Linked DNA regions of Homo sapiens: region 2 is linked to region 1. The links are contacts of gene promoters, found by promoter capture Hi-C in human tissues and cell types (Jung and others, 2019). All regions are on one chromosome and are shown on one strand. The core of a region is centred on a gene start or on the middle of the fragment in contact, and the rest is flanking DNA. Distances in the headings are between cores, read along the strand shown.

Region 1 (7,032 bases), core at 2,394-4,893:
ACCCTGTGATAGAAGGGCCATAGGTCTGGGCCAAGAAGCAGTTCTGTTGTTCTTGGATGTGGGGAGGAGAGGGAGGGGGCTGGGTGGAACTTGGGCAAGCCTCCATACCATCTCAGCAAAGATGCAGCCCAGGCTCCAGATGTCCACAGCTGTGGAATAATATTTGCAGCCCAGGAGGATTTCAGGAGCTCGGTACCACAGGGTCACCACCTGAGGGACGGGAATAGGGAGGGGCGGGGTGGTTTATAGGGTATGGAAATTCCCGCATCTCAGTTCCTCAACACTACTCTGCTTACTCTTGGCCTCTTAACAAGCAGTTTCCTTCCCTCCATCATCTTTCCCCTCCCACTGATTTCCAGTCCATAGTTCTGGACTGAACCCCTAATTTGAGATCTTCCTGGAAAAACTTGAGACAAATTGGTCATAATTTTATTTCTAAATTTTTTCTTTTTGTAGATTTGTAGAGATGGGGTCTCGCTATGTTGCCCATGATGGTCTCGAACTCCTGGGCTCAAGTGATCCTCCCACCTCAGCCTCCCAAAGTATTGGTATTACAGGTGTGGGCCCAGTTAGCAACACAGTATGAATTCCATGCATACCCTAAGACTCTTTAGGATGTCAAGAGATTATTTCTACCTAGTAAGAAACTGTTAGCCAGATATTTTTAGTAACTTTGTGAATACCCTAGTTAACACCTCTTGGGAAGCTCAGAGAAAAAAGACATAAAGGGACTCACCTCATGGGTGTAAGTACGAACAGGGACTCCAAAAGCTCTGGCTAGTCCAAAGTCTGCTAGCTTGATGGCCCCCTCTGTGTTAATAAGCAGATTCTGAGGTTTAAGGTCTCGGTGGAGGACCCGATGAGAATGGCAGAAAGCTAGGCCCTGGAGCAGCTGGAACAGATAGCTCTGACAAAGGAGAAAGAGAGGACTGTGTTTCTCCATTACAGTGAGCAGACTGGGTTTGCTCTGTGCCCCTAAAACTCTACTAAAGCCTTTATTATGTTGGATTATAGTTACATATTTACAAGCTATTTCTCCCAATGGACTGTCAGCCCAGAGAGGATAAGGACCAAGTCTTACTCAATTTTCCATCCCTTTTCTACATCCTGTGCATTGAAAAAATGTTTGTTAATAGATTGAAAGTAGCTCTGGGAGTGAAGAATCCAGCCCTAAAATAGACAATAGGGACTCACTAGCTAGGTCTTCCACCAAATGGAAGGGCTTTTTGGAGGAATTTACCAAGTGCTCTCAAATCCCGTTTATCTGAGTTTCATCTGACCTCCCACCTGAGTTGCTAGGTTGACTCACTAGAGTTTCAACTTTGATTGTTCAGTCCAACCCTAGGGTTAATGAATATAATGAGCAGGGAAGGAGACACAAAAAGAAGGGGAGTGTGTGTGTATAGGAGATGAGGGCTCAGAAGGAGGCCAAAATCATAAAATATCACCCTGAATTGCCTGCCACCAGTCCCCCAAGACATGCCCATGATGAGAGGAGCTGATGAGAAGCATTACCTTGATGAGGGGAAGAGGAATGCCAGTGAGAGCAGAGGCATCCATGAATTTCTTGAGATCTTGGTGCAGAAATTCAAAAACCAGGTAGAGTTTATTTTCTGTGTGAATGACATCCAGCAGCCTAGAGAAGGAAAGTTTGAGGAAATGGAGGTGTGTGAGAGAGAGAAATGCCCACACTGTACAGACAGAACTTATCCTCCTTTCCAGCTGGATCACCTCTCAGACGCATACTTACTTGACAATATTAGGATGGTTAAGCTCCTTAAGCAGAGAGATCTCTCGGATGGCAGTACTGGGCACACCCTCAGTCTCACTTGGAGAGGTTGGGAAAGCAGAGATGGGAATATGGTTACAAATATTCCTTTCCCCCCCACCTAGTCATTTCTTTCCCCCAAGGAGACACCACCCAGCACCCCCTAGGAAAGTGAGAGAAGAGAAAGGGTGATGGTAAGAGCTAATTCTTGGGTAGTCAGGGTGTGGTTTTTGGATATATTAAGGCCATTATCTCCTCTTTTCCCAGGGGTAGGTAAGTAAAGCCGCCTGGTGAAGGTGAAGCAGGGAGACTGTAATGGAGGGGAAAAAATGCAGGAGTAGCCCCCAGCCTCCCCAGAGGGGCCAGTGAGGTTCAACTGCCATTCTTTGGAAAGAGGAGAGAATTCTAAGGTGAGGGTGGGGCAGTGAAGAGGGCTCTTCATTCAGAAAGGCGATTCTCGCCGGTTCCCACATAACTCCACTCCATGGAGAGTCTTGGACCTCATCTCAGAGACCTCCTTTCTCTCCCCGAGTCTGTAGTCGCACATTTGGGGGCACGATCCGGCTCAGTTTGGGAAGAAAGTTTTCCATGGATTCCACACCACCCTATACTCTCCCCAGGGAGTATAAGTATACTCTTCACCTTCTACTGGCCCCCAACCCACCTCTCCACTTCTAAAGAAGTCCCTCCCTGCTCTCTTCCGGTCCCTGGACGGCTACCCGCCCGTGGGGGGTTGGGGGGGACAATCAAGGAGGTCCCCAGTTAGGAGTCCCGGGTACAGAGGCCACTCACGTGTCCAGGCGGATTTTCTTAAGCGCCACCACCTCTCCCGTCAACTTGTTTCTGGCTTTGTACACAACTCCGTACGTGCCCTCTCCGATCTTTTCCACCTTTTGGAAGTTCTCCATGAAGCGCCAGCGAGTCGGGTCAGCCCGGCCCTGGAGCGGGGGCCTGGGAACCCTGCAGAAGGCGGACCCTGGCTCTCGGGGGCCGAGGAGGGGGAAACAGGGCCCAGTACCGTGGCCCCGGGTCGGGATGGAACGCAGTATACCTCTCGCTCTTGTCAATTTGGCCAACTTGAAACAATGTTGCCGCCTCCCACCGAGTTCCCGACCGCCACCAGAGGCCCCGCCCCTGCTTCCCGCGTTTCCCTGGCTCCGCCCCCAGGCCTTTCTATTGGTCAACGTCAGAGCCGGGGGGCGAGCCCAGCGCTCCTCCCCGCAAATGATCCCGCCCCAGGCAAGTTTGGTTCTTGGGGGCTAGACAAGTTTCTTCCCCGGTGGGGCGGCTGAACACTCTTCCCAAGTACCTGCTTTGGGTCCAAGTTTCCTACCTATGTCTCTAGTCTGTAGGGATTTCTTGATTTCTAACTCACTATTTTCACCAATCCTGGGGAAAATATGTATCGACCTAAGGTTAAATTCCACCTGGCCCAGGAGCCTCCTTTGGAAACCAGGAAGCCGGGAATCTCGTTGCAAAGGAATCCTGGGCCTCAGAGGAGTCGTTGCCTCTGCCTCATAGCATACCCCGACACTGTCTCTGTTTTGGGATGCAGGGTTCTGTTTCTGTCTTTTTGAGAAGTTCCTGGTTTAATTCACTCTCCCATGATAAACTGTTGTGTCTGGTATGTGTTACGCAGCTGCCTTTCAGTTAGCTCTTGCCCGGGAGTGCATCAAGATGAGAGTGACCCAGTGAAACCAGAAACTGTCATTGAGTAGCAGGATGGGAAAGCAATGTCTAGGGACCAGGATCCCTTTGTCAGTTTTTCCTTTTTCCTCTCCTCCGGCCCCTCCCAGGCCTTCTCTGAGGGAGAAGAGGAAGGGCTATGCAAATGAGCACCCTTTTCTTATATAGGGGCCTATCCCAGTCCCCCCAGTGCCTTTGGTTGCTGGAGGGAAGAACACAATGGATCTGGTGCTAAAAAGATGCCTTCTTCATTTGGCTGTGATAGGTGCTTTGCTGGCTGTGGGGGCTACAAAAGGTATGTGTGGATATGTGGACATGAGCAGGTGTGAACTTGGGGATGAATTCCCCCTGCTCTGGTTTCTGTCCTCCTAATGGGAGATAGCGGCAATATTTCAGGCGTCTCCCACTCATTTGATTTAGTGAGGATGTGGGCACCTGGGCTCCCTCCCTACATGGAGATTTGGGATTTTGCCTGAAAATAATCTCATATGCTTGGAGGGGCAGAAGGATAGAAGGTCTCTGTGGCACTGATTCTGAGGCTTCCTTGGCAGTGAGCTGGAGCACGGGCTCCAAAGGGGTGAAATGTGCAGGAGACTCTTTTAGGAAACGTCTCTTGGGGTAGGAGATTTAAAGTGGGGAGTCAGAGAATGTGGTATTGGGTAAGAACACTAAGGAGATACAATCCTCTCCTCTTGGGATGGGTACGGGTGAACACAGCCCAGACCTTTTGTTCTGGGGCTGGAGAGATAGGCAGAGGGGTCTCAGCTGAGCATCACATGAAAGGGCTCTGGGGGATTGGGCCTCGTGACAGGAGCAAGGGGCGGGGGTGGGGTGGTGAGAGGGTCTGGAATGTCCCGTGCTGCTCTGAGGAGAGTTGGAAGTGGAGAAAGAATGGGGTATCTTATGACTTCTCTTGTTCTAGTGGTGGGATGCTCAATAGATGATTCCAGATCCTCCCCCAGCAGAATCAACTAGGGTTACAGCACACATTAGAAAGGGAATGAGGCCGGGCGCCGTGGCTCACGCCTGTAATCCCAGCACTTTGGGAGGCTGAAGCAGGTGGATCACGAGGTCAGGAGTTCGAGACCAGCCTGGCCAATATGGTGAAACCCCCGTCTCTACTAAAAGTACAAAAATTAGCTGGGCATGGTGGCACATGCCTGTAGTCCCAGCTACTCAGAAGGCTGAGGCTGGAGAATCACTTGAACCCAGAAGGCAGAGGTTGCAGTGAGCCAAGATCACACCAATGCACTCCAGCCTGGGTGACAGAGCGAGTCTCCGTCTCAAAAAAAAAAAAAAAAAGAAAGGGGATGAGGCCCGGCACAGTAACTCATGCCTGTAATCCTAGCACTTTGAGAGGCTGAGACGGGTGGATCACTTGAGGTCAGACCAGCCTGGCCAATATGGTGAAACTCCATCTCTACTAAAAATACAAAAATTAGCTGGGCATGGTGGTACGCACCTGTAATCCCAACTACTTGGGAGGCCGAGGCATGAGAATCGCTTGAACCTGGGAGGCAGAGGTTGCAGTGAGCCGAGATCACACCATTGCATTCCAGCCTGGGCAACAGCAAGACTCTGTCTCAAAAAAATAAAAAAAGAAAAGAAAAGAAAAGAGATAAGGAGGCCGGGTGTAGTGGCTCACACCTGTAATCCCAGCACTTTGGGAGGCCGTGGTCATAGGATTGCTTGAGCCCAGGAGTTCAAGACCAGCCTGAGCAACATAGTGAGACCTTGTCTCTACGAAACGTAAAAAAATTAGCCAGGCCTAGGCCAGGCTTGGTGGCTCACGCCTGTAATCCCAGCACTTTGCGAGACCAAGGCAGGTGGATCAGCTGAAGTTGGGAGTTTGAGACCAGCCTGACCAACATAGAGAAACCCAGTCTCTACTAAAAATACAAAATTAGCTGGGCGTGGTGGTGCATGCCTGTAATCCCAGCCACTCAGGAGGCTGAGGCAGGAGAATCGCTTGAACCCGGGAGGCGGAGGTTGTAGTAAGCTGAGATCGTGCCATTGTACTCCAGCCTTCCAGCCTGGGCAACAAGAGCGAAACTCTGTCTCAAAAAAAAAAAAAAAAAAAATTAGCCAGGCTTGGTGGTGAGCACCTGTGGTCCTAGCCACTTGGGAGGCTAATGAGGAAGATGGCTTCAGCCTAGGAGTTTGAGGCTGCAGTGAGTGATGAACGTGCCACTGCACGCAGGGTGAGAGAGCAAAACCCTGTATCAAAAGGAAAGGAAAGGGGAAAGGGAAAGGAAAGGGAAGGAAGTTTCTGCAGGAAAGGGAAAAATGGGGTGAGGGTAGTTTTTGCTGTGCTGAACTATATACAGAAAGGAGAGGAGAGGGGAGGGAAGGGGAGGGGAGAGAGGTTTCTGCAGGAAAGGGAAAAATGGGGTGAGGGTAGTTTCTGCTGTGCTGAAATACATACATTATATCCCAGCCCTGCTTTCTCCCTAGATGTTTAGTGTCACAGATTTCTAGGAAGTTCTCCTTGATGTGACTTTCCTCGCTGTGCTGCAGTTTCAAGTCTTTTTCTTTTACTATATTCCTTAATGTATCCTGGAAAGAGTCTGTTCACACCCACCCACCTAAGGCTCTTAACAAAAAGACTGTACTTATATTTTGGATCCTGATTTTAAAAATCATAAGACATTTTTCCAGATATTCATGAAATTTTATATGGACTGAGTTTGATAATTTTGTCTAGCATGAAATGACATTGTGCTTATGCAAGAAAATACTCATACATTTTAAATTTGTAGGGTTAAAATAACACGATGTCTGGGATTTGCTTTTACATACTTTAGCCAAAACAAAAACAAAAACAACAACTAGTAAGGATAAACAAAGCAAATGTGGCAAGGTGTTGATAGTTGTTGGACCTGGGTGGGGCAGATGGAGGTCCAGCATATCCTTTTCTTCTCAGACCTCTCTTGGTCAGTTACAATAATTTTGTCTTCCCTGTCCCCATCCCCAATCTCTGCCAGCCTCTAATCCATCCTCCTCACTGCTTGCCATCGTGATCTTTCTAAAACACAAATTTGATCATGTTCAAAAGTAAATTTTTTTTTTTTTTTGAGACGGAGTCTTGCTCTGTAGCCCAGGCTGGAGTGCAGTGGTGTGATCTCGGCTCACTGCCACCTCCGCCTCCTGGGTTCAAGCAATTCTCCTGCCTCAGCCCCCTGAGTAGCTGGAACTACAGGTGCCCACTACCACGCCCGGCTAATTTTTGTATTTTTAGTAGAGACAGGGTTTCACTTGGCCAGGCTGGTCTCGAACTCCTGACCTTGTGATCCACCTGCCTCGGCCTCTCAAAGTGCTGGGATTACAGATGTGAGCCACCATGCCTGGCTAAAAGTAAATTTTATGGTATGTGAATTATGTCTTGATTTAAAACAAAACAGGCGAGGCGCAGTGGCTCACGCCTATAATCCCAGCACTTTGGGAGGCCGAAGCGGTTGGATCACTTGAGGTCAGGAGTTTGAGACAAACCTGGCCAACATGGAGAAACCATGAAACATGGCGAAACTAAAAATACAAAAATTAGTTGGGTGTGGTGGTGGGTGCCTGTAGTCCCAGCT
Region 2 (7,032 bases), core at 1,784-4,283, 390 kb before region 1:
TAAATAGACACCAGCTGGCAGTGAGCAGGGAACAGTGGGGAGAAAGATGCATGGGACAGCCTGCTTGGTGACAGGCAAAAACCAATTTGTTGTTCTTTTGAGACAGAGTCTTGCTTTGTCACCCAGGCTGGAGTGTAGTGATGTGATCTCTGCTTACTGCAACCCCTGCCTCCTGGGTACAAGCCATTCTCCTGCCTCAGCCTCTTGAGTAGCTGGGATTACAGGCAACAATTTTAAGTGAAGTTTCAGGATCTCACAAAGTTGATAACCTATAATCATATTCAAGATTCACAGGTCATAAACGTGTCATATTCTTGGGATTGAGCCACCCATTGCACAGCATTTAGATGTCTTCTAGAATGGAGCTCCTCCTTCCTATATGGAGGGCAGTTTATATGGTGTACTTACCTGACCACCAAAAAGATTTGGCTCCTAAAAAAGCTTCAGGTGGCCGGGCATGGTGGTTCACCCCTGTAATCCCAGCACTTTGGGAGGCCAAGGTGGGCAGATCACCTGAGGTCAGAAGTTCCAGACCAGCCTGGACAATATGGTGAAACCCCATCTCTACTAAAAATACAAAAATTAGCTGGGCATGGTAGTGGGCGCCTGTAATCCCAGCTAGTCGGGAGGCTGAGGCAGGAGAATCCCTTCAACTCGGGAGGCAGAGTTTGCAGTGAGCCGAGATCGTGTCACTGCACTCCAGCCTGGGTGACAGAGCAAGACTCCATCTCAAAAAAAGAAAAAAAAAAAAAGAAAAAAAAAAGCTTCAGAGCCAGCAGGGATCATGCTGTAATAAATACTTAACATCAACACTGATCTTTAAATGCTTTAGCACAATCAAATATAAATAACAAACACACACATAAATGCAAAATAAATGAATTAGGGAGATAGATGAAATAAGATTGTGGAAATAGTAATGTTTGTTAAAGCTGGATGGTGATCCTTGTACTATTCACTCTACTCTAGTGTGTATTTGAAAATTACCATTAGGCTGGTTATGGTGGCTCATGCCTGTTAATCCCGGCATTTTGGAAGGCTGAGGCAGGCGGATTACTTGAGCTCAGGAGTTTGAGATCTGCCTGGGCAACATGGCAAAATCCCATCTCTACAAAAAATTAGCTGGCATGATGGCACACTCCTGTAGTCCCAGCTCCTTGAGGGGCTGAGGCAGAGAATGGCTTGAACCTGAGAGGTCAAAGCTGCAGTGAGCCAAGATCATGCCACTGCACTCCAGCCTGGGTGACCAAGTGAGACCCTGTCTCAAAAAAAAAAAAAAAAAAAGAAAGAAAATTCCCATTAAAGCACAAAGGCCCACTTATTGAAGCTATTAAAATACAGGTTGGGGCCGGCTGGGCACAGCGGCTCACGCCTGTAATCCCAGCACTTTGGAAGGCCGAGGTAGGCAGATCACGAGTTCAGGAGATCGAGACCATCCTGGCTAACACGGTGAAACCCCATCTCTACTAAAAATACAAAAAAAAAAATCAGCCGGGCATGGTGGCGGGAGCCTATAGTCCCAGCTACTCGGGAGGCTGAGGCAGGAGAATGGCATGAGCCCGGGAGGCGGAGCTTGCAGTGAGCCAAAATCACACCACTGCACTCCAGCCTGGGCAACAGATCGAGACTCCATCTGAAGAAAAAAAAAATACAGGTTGGGACCACAGTGGCTCATGCCTGTAATCCTAGTACTTTGGGAGTCCGAAGTAGGTGGATCACCTGAGGTCAGGAGTTTGAGACCAGCCTGGCCAACATGGCAAAACCCCATCTCTACTAAAAAATATACAAAAATTAGCTGGGCGTGGTGGTGGGTGCCTGTAATCCCAGCTACTCAGGAGGCTGAGGCAGAAGAATCACTTGAACCAGGGGGATGGTGGTTGCAATGAGCCAAGATCATGCCACTTCACTCCGGCCCAGGCAAAAGAGTGAGAGTCCATCTTAAAAAAAAAAAAAAAAAAAAAAAAAAAATACAGATTAGGCATTCCTAATCTGAAAAATTTGGCTCCAAAATGCTCCAGTGAGCATTTCCTTTGAGTGTCATGTGGGTGCTCAAAAAGTTAGATTTTGGACCATTTCAGATTTCAGAGTTTTGGATTAGGGATGCTCGACTGGTAAGTAATGCAGATATTCCAAAATCTGGACAAATCTGAAATCCAAAATGCTTGGAATAGCAGATACTCAACTGGTAGCACTCCCTGGAAGAATATGCACCAAACTGATAGCAGTGGTTACTTCTGGAGAGGAGGGGAAAGAACCAAGATTAGCAGTAGGATCAACATATATTTTAATGTTTTCTGTATTTTTATTACTTGTATAATTTAAACATTTTAAATTAGTAATAATGAACAATCATGAAACTATGGATGATTTAGTCCAGCAAAATATCCAATTGGGAACCCTCATCCTTCTGACGCAGAGCCCAAATGGCGCAGTGGGAAATGCTGCAGAATCTTGACAGCCCCTTTCAGGATCAGCTGCACCAGCTTTACTCGCACAGCCTCCTGCCTGTGGACATTCGACAGTACTTGGCTGTCTGGATTGAAGACCAGAACTGGTGAGGCCTTCAGGAAGTTGGGGGAATGAAAAAGGTGGTTCCTTACTTCTGGGCCCCCGGGATCCTGGAATCATTAATGGCAGGAAGGGGTTGGAAAGCCTCAGGACTACAGTAACACTGCAGAGACACTAATACTTCTTATTCCTGGTGCCCAGGCAGGAAGCTGCACTTGGGAGTGATGATTCCAAGGCTACCATGCTATTCTTCCACTTCTTGGATCAGCTGAACTATGAGTGTGGCCGTTGCAGCCAGGACCCAGAGTCCTTGTTGCTGCAGCACAATTTGCGGAAATTCTGCCGGGACATTCAGGTACTTGGAACGGTTGGGAGTGATGGGGTAGCACTGGGAGCTGAGCATAGAGGAGTAAGGTTTGGAGAATAGAATAGTACCTGGAGGTGGAAAGGGAGACGGGAACAAATGTGGGGAAAGGAGGACAGAGTCTGGACTTGGGGAATCACTAGCAGAGAGAAGGGTTGCATATACGTGACACTGTTGGGAGGATGCTATGGTGAAAAGACAAAGGGCTAAGAACCCCGAAGGAGGAGGAAATACTGTGGACATTGGTGGGGAGGGTCTAGGGCAATAGGTCATTGAGAGTGGTTGAATTGGATCAATCCTTTCTGTTTACCTATTCTAGCCCTTTTCCCAGGATCCTACCCAGTTGGCTGAGATGATCTTTAACCTCCTTCTGGAAGAAAAAAGAATTTTGATCCAGGCTCAGAGGGCCCAATTGGTGAGGACAATTCAGTGGTAATGTTGGAAACTCCTGAAGTAGAGAGGAACCATGGAAAGGACTCAGGGAGTTGTCTCAGAACAGGATCCCCCCGACATCCTGTGGTATAATTTCAGGCCTGAACTTAAGGCATGAAAGGCCAGAGTTAAAACGTGCTCAGAGCCTCTTTTTTCAGGAACAAGGAGAGCCAGTTCTCGAAACACCTGTGGAGAGCCAGCAACATGAGATTGAATCCCGGATCCTGGATTTAAGGGCTATGATGGAGGTTAGTAGATGTGGTAGGAGTTAGGGTTGACAGCGTTCAGCCTAACACCTCCCTGAGAAGCAGCCTCATCGGGGTCCTCTCCCCTCTGCAGAAGCTGGTAAAATCCATCAGCCAACTGAAAGACCAGCAGGATGTCTTCTGCTTCCGATATAAGATCCAGGCCAAAGGTAGGAAGCACATTGAGGGGCTGGAGAAAGATAAGTGCCTGCTGAGAAGCCGGAGCTGGAAGTGAACAGGAGAAAGCTCCGATGAGCAGTAGTCACTGTCAGACACACCCCACTGACTACAGTCCTGCTGCCGTGCAAAGCTGGAAGTGCTTTGTGGAGGCTGAGCTGGAGGTGCAGCTGAGAGACAGTAAATGTTGAGGAAATGCATGGAAAACTAACAGTGTTTTATTTGAGGGGGTGTCTGGTCCAAGCATGACCATTCAGAATTTGCCTGAGGGTCCCACAGGTGCCTGTGCTTTGCTTGGTTTCCCTTTCTTCCTCCACAAAATTCCTCCTTCCTGACTCTGACTGAGACCCCAGTCAGGAAGGAGAGGAAAGAACCCCTGGACTGACTCCTGTTCCCACCATCCAGGGAAGACACCCTCTCTGGACCCCCATCAGACCAAAGAGCAGAAGATTCTGCAGGAAACTCTCAATGAACTGGACAAAAGGAGAAAGGTGGGAGACAGAGGACAGAACATGTGGGCAACAAGGACCTGGAAAAATGAGGGATGTGGGGACCCTGGTCCTCTAGCGCTGGCTTCTTTGTTTCTTCATCCCCAGTTGGGTGGTGGAGGGTGAAAGGGAGAGATGCTCAACACTCACATTATCTCTTTCCCAGGAGGTGCTGGATGCCTCCAAAGCACTGCTAGGCCGATTAACTACCCTAATCGAGCTACTGCTGCCAAAGTTGGAGGAGTGGAAGGCCCAGCAGCAAAAAGCCTGCATCAGAGCTCCCATTGACCACGGGTTGGAACAGCTGGAGACATGGTGAGAGGTACCACCCCAACCCTCGTCCTCGCCATGCGCTGTGATTTGTAAGTTGCAGTGCCCTGCATATAGCAAGAGATACTGTTCTCTATTTGTCTCTGCTCCCCAGAATGAGCCCTGCTCCCTGCTGACTGCAGCTCTATTCTGCTCCTCATCCTCACCACGCAGGGAGCCCAGAGCCCAGTCTCCTTCAGGGAAAGGAATGAATTAACCCACAATCTGGTTTTTCCTTCTTTTTTAATCACCCAGAAATATATATATATGTATTTTTTTTTTTACTGCAACGAATACAATGACAAGAAAGGAAGGAAGGAAGGAGGAAGAGAAAATTACCTATTACCTAGCTTATTAAACAAAAATGGAATCATATTGTCCATACTATTTTGAAATCCATGGGGTTTTTTTTAAGCTTAACAGTATTTTTTATATATATATATATATATATATATTTTTTTTTTTTTTTTTTTTTTGAGACGGAGTCTCTCTCTGTTGCCCAGGCTGGAGCGCAGTGGCACGATCTCAGCTCACTGCAACTTCCAACTCCCAGGTTCAAGCAATTCTCCTGTCTCAGCCTCCCGAGTTGCTGGGATTACAGGCACACACCACCATGCCTGGCTAGTTTTTTTGTATTTTTAGTAGAGACGATGTTTCTCCATGTTGGCCAGGCTGGTCTCAAACTCCTGACTTCAGGTGATCCACCCAACTTGGGCTCCCAAAGTGCTGGGATTACAGGCGTGAGCCACCATGCCCGGCCAACAGTATATTATATTTATCCATGTTATTTCTTATGTCCACACAACAGTCCCCTATATGGTGGTAACATAATTTAATTAATGAACTCCTATTTTCAGCTATTTAGGTTATTTTCAATTTCTTGTTACCTTTTTCCAGGAAACGCTATATTTTATGGTAATTATATTGTGTTGTAGAAAAATCACTAGTGTGTCCTCCAACATACTTGAAAAATACCTACTGTTTTCAATATTTTCTCATTTAAAAATTTATTATAATTTAGTCTTTTAGAAATATACCAGGCCAGGCATGGCGTCTCATGCCTGTTATCCTAGTACTTTGGAAGGCTGAGGCAGGAGGATCACTTCAGTCTTGGGGTTTGAGACCAGCCCGGGAAACATAACAAGACCCCATCTCTACAAAAAAAAAAAATTTGTTTTTTAATTAGGCATGTCCGGACACAGTGGCTCACACATGTGGCCAGCACTGTGGGAGGCCAAGGTGGGTGGATCACTTGAGGTCAGGAGTTCAAGACCAGCCTGGCCAATGTGGTGAAACCCCATCTCTACTAAAAATACAAAAATTTGCCAGGTGTGGTGGCGCATGCCTGTATTCCCAGCTACTCAGGAGGCTAAGGCAGGAAAATCACTTGAACTCGGGAGGCAGAGGTTGCAGTGAGCTGTGATCATGCCACTGTACTCCAGCCTGGGTGACAGAGCGAGACTCCGTCTCAAAAAAAAAAAAAAAAGATTAGGCATGGTGGCACACGCCTGTAGTCCCTAGCTACTCAGGAGGCTGAGGTGGGAGGATTGCTTGAGCCCAGGTGTTGGAGGCTGCAGTGAGCCATGATTATACCACTGTAGTCCAGCCTGGACAACAGAACGAGACCCTGTCTCTAAAAGTATATATGTACACATACCATAATACCCAGCTACTGAGGAGGCTGAGGCAGAAAGAGTGCTTGAGTCCAGGAGTTTGATGTCAGCCTGAGCAATATAGCAAGACCCTCACCTCTTAAAAAAAAAAAAAGTAGATTAAAAAAATACCACAATTGCTCAGGTAGATTGAAAAACAGGCATATAGTACTTATGGTACAGGACCAGCATGCATGCATGCATGCATTGATTGATTGATTGATTGATTGATTGAGACAGGGTCTCTCTCTGTCTCCCAGGCTGGAGTGCCTGGCCTTAAGTGATCTGCCCACCTTTGCTTCCCAAAGTGCTGAGATTACAGGTGTGAGCCACCATGTCAGCTGGCGAGGCTTTTTAAAAGATAGTTCCAAGTGTTACAGCTCTTTTAGGATTTGTCTAGCAGGCTTTCAGGTTTTTGCCAGAAACCACCCCCACCCCCACCCCCACCAAAAAAAAAAAAAAAAAAAAAAGATAGTTACAAATGTTTCCCAGAATAGTTGTCCCAATCGAATCTATTTTCTCATGTGTAGTGTATGGTTGTTTTCCTGTCACCACATTGCTGATTATTATTATTTTTAATTATAGAGACAGTAAAGTACAGTAGTTAAAAATGTGAGTTGGGGCTGGGTGCAGTGGCTCACACCTGTAATCCCAGCACTTTGGGAGGCCAAGGTGGGCGGATCACCTGAGGTCAGGAGTTCAAGACCAGCTTGGCCAACATGGCAAAACCCCGTCTCTACTAAAAATATATATATATAAGTTAGCCGGGCGTGGTGGCACATACCTGTAATCCCAGCTACTCGGGAGGCCAAGGCAGGAGAATCTCTTGAATCCAGGAGGTGGAGGTTGCAGTGAGC

What was found. The method cuts DNA at HindIII sites, captures the fragments that hold promoters and counts their contacts. A contact is called where the count stands out against the background at its distance.
Region 2: a fragment that was not itself captured here is called in contact with the fragment with the promoter of PMEL in region 1 in 1 of the 25 tissues and cell types used here (hippocampus).

The regions. Positions count from the first base shown.
Region 1 is chr12:55,962,653-55,969,684 of GRCh38, reverse strand. It overlaps PMEL (premelanosome protein), which reads left to right and starts at 3,643. Exons shown (of 11, transcript NM_001384361.1): 1 at 3,643-3,749. The coding sequence starts at 3,674. CDK2 (cyclin dependent kinase 2) reads right to left here and starts at 2,855. Exons shown (of 7, transcript NM_001798.5): 1 at 2,561-2,855; 2 at 1,751-1,828; 3 at 1,516-1,636; 4 at 737-907; 5 at 109-210. The coding sequence starts at 2,676. RefSeq lists an enhancer at 3,085-3,164. The HindIII fragment of the contact is 17,930 bases long and covers 1-7,032 here.
Region 2 is chr12:56,351,963-56,358,994 of GRCh38, reverse strand. It overlaps STAT2 (signal transducer and activator of transcription 2), which reads left to right. Exons shown (of 24, transcript NM_005419.4): 2 at 2,417-2,554; 3 at 2,710-2,863; 4 at 3,192-3,287; 5 at 3,463-3,552; 6 at 3,644-3,719; 7 at 4,132-4,217; 8 at 4,381-4,529. The coding sequence starts at 2,424. It also overlaps the pseudogene RNU7-40P. Among named protein-coding and RNA genes, the nearest start is that of STAT2, 4.6 kb to the left of the region's middle. RefSeq lists an enhancer at 1-21. The HindIII fragment of the contact is 6,015 bases long and covers 26-6,040 here.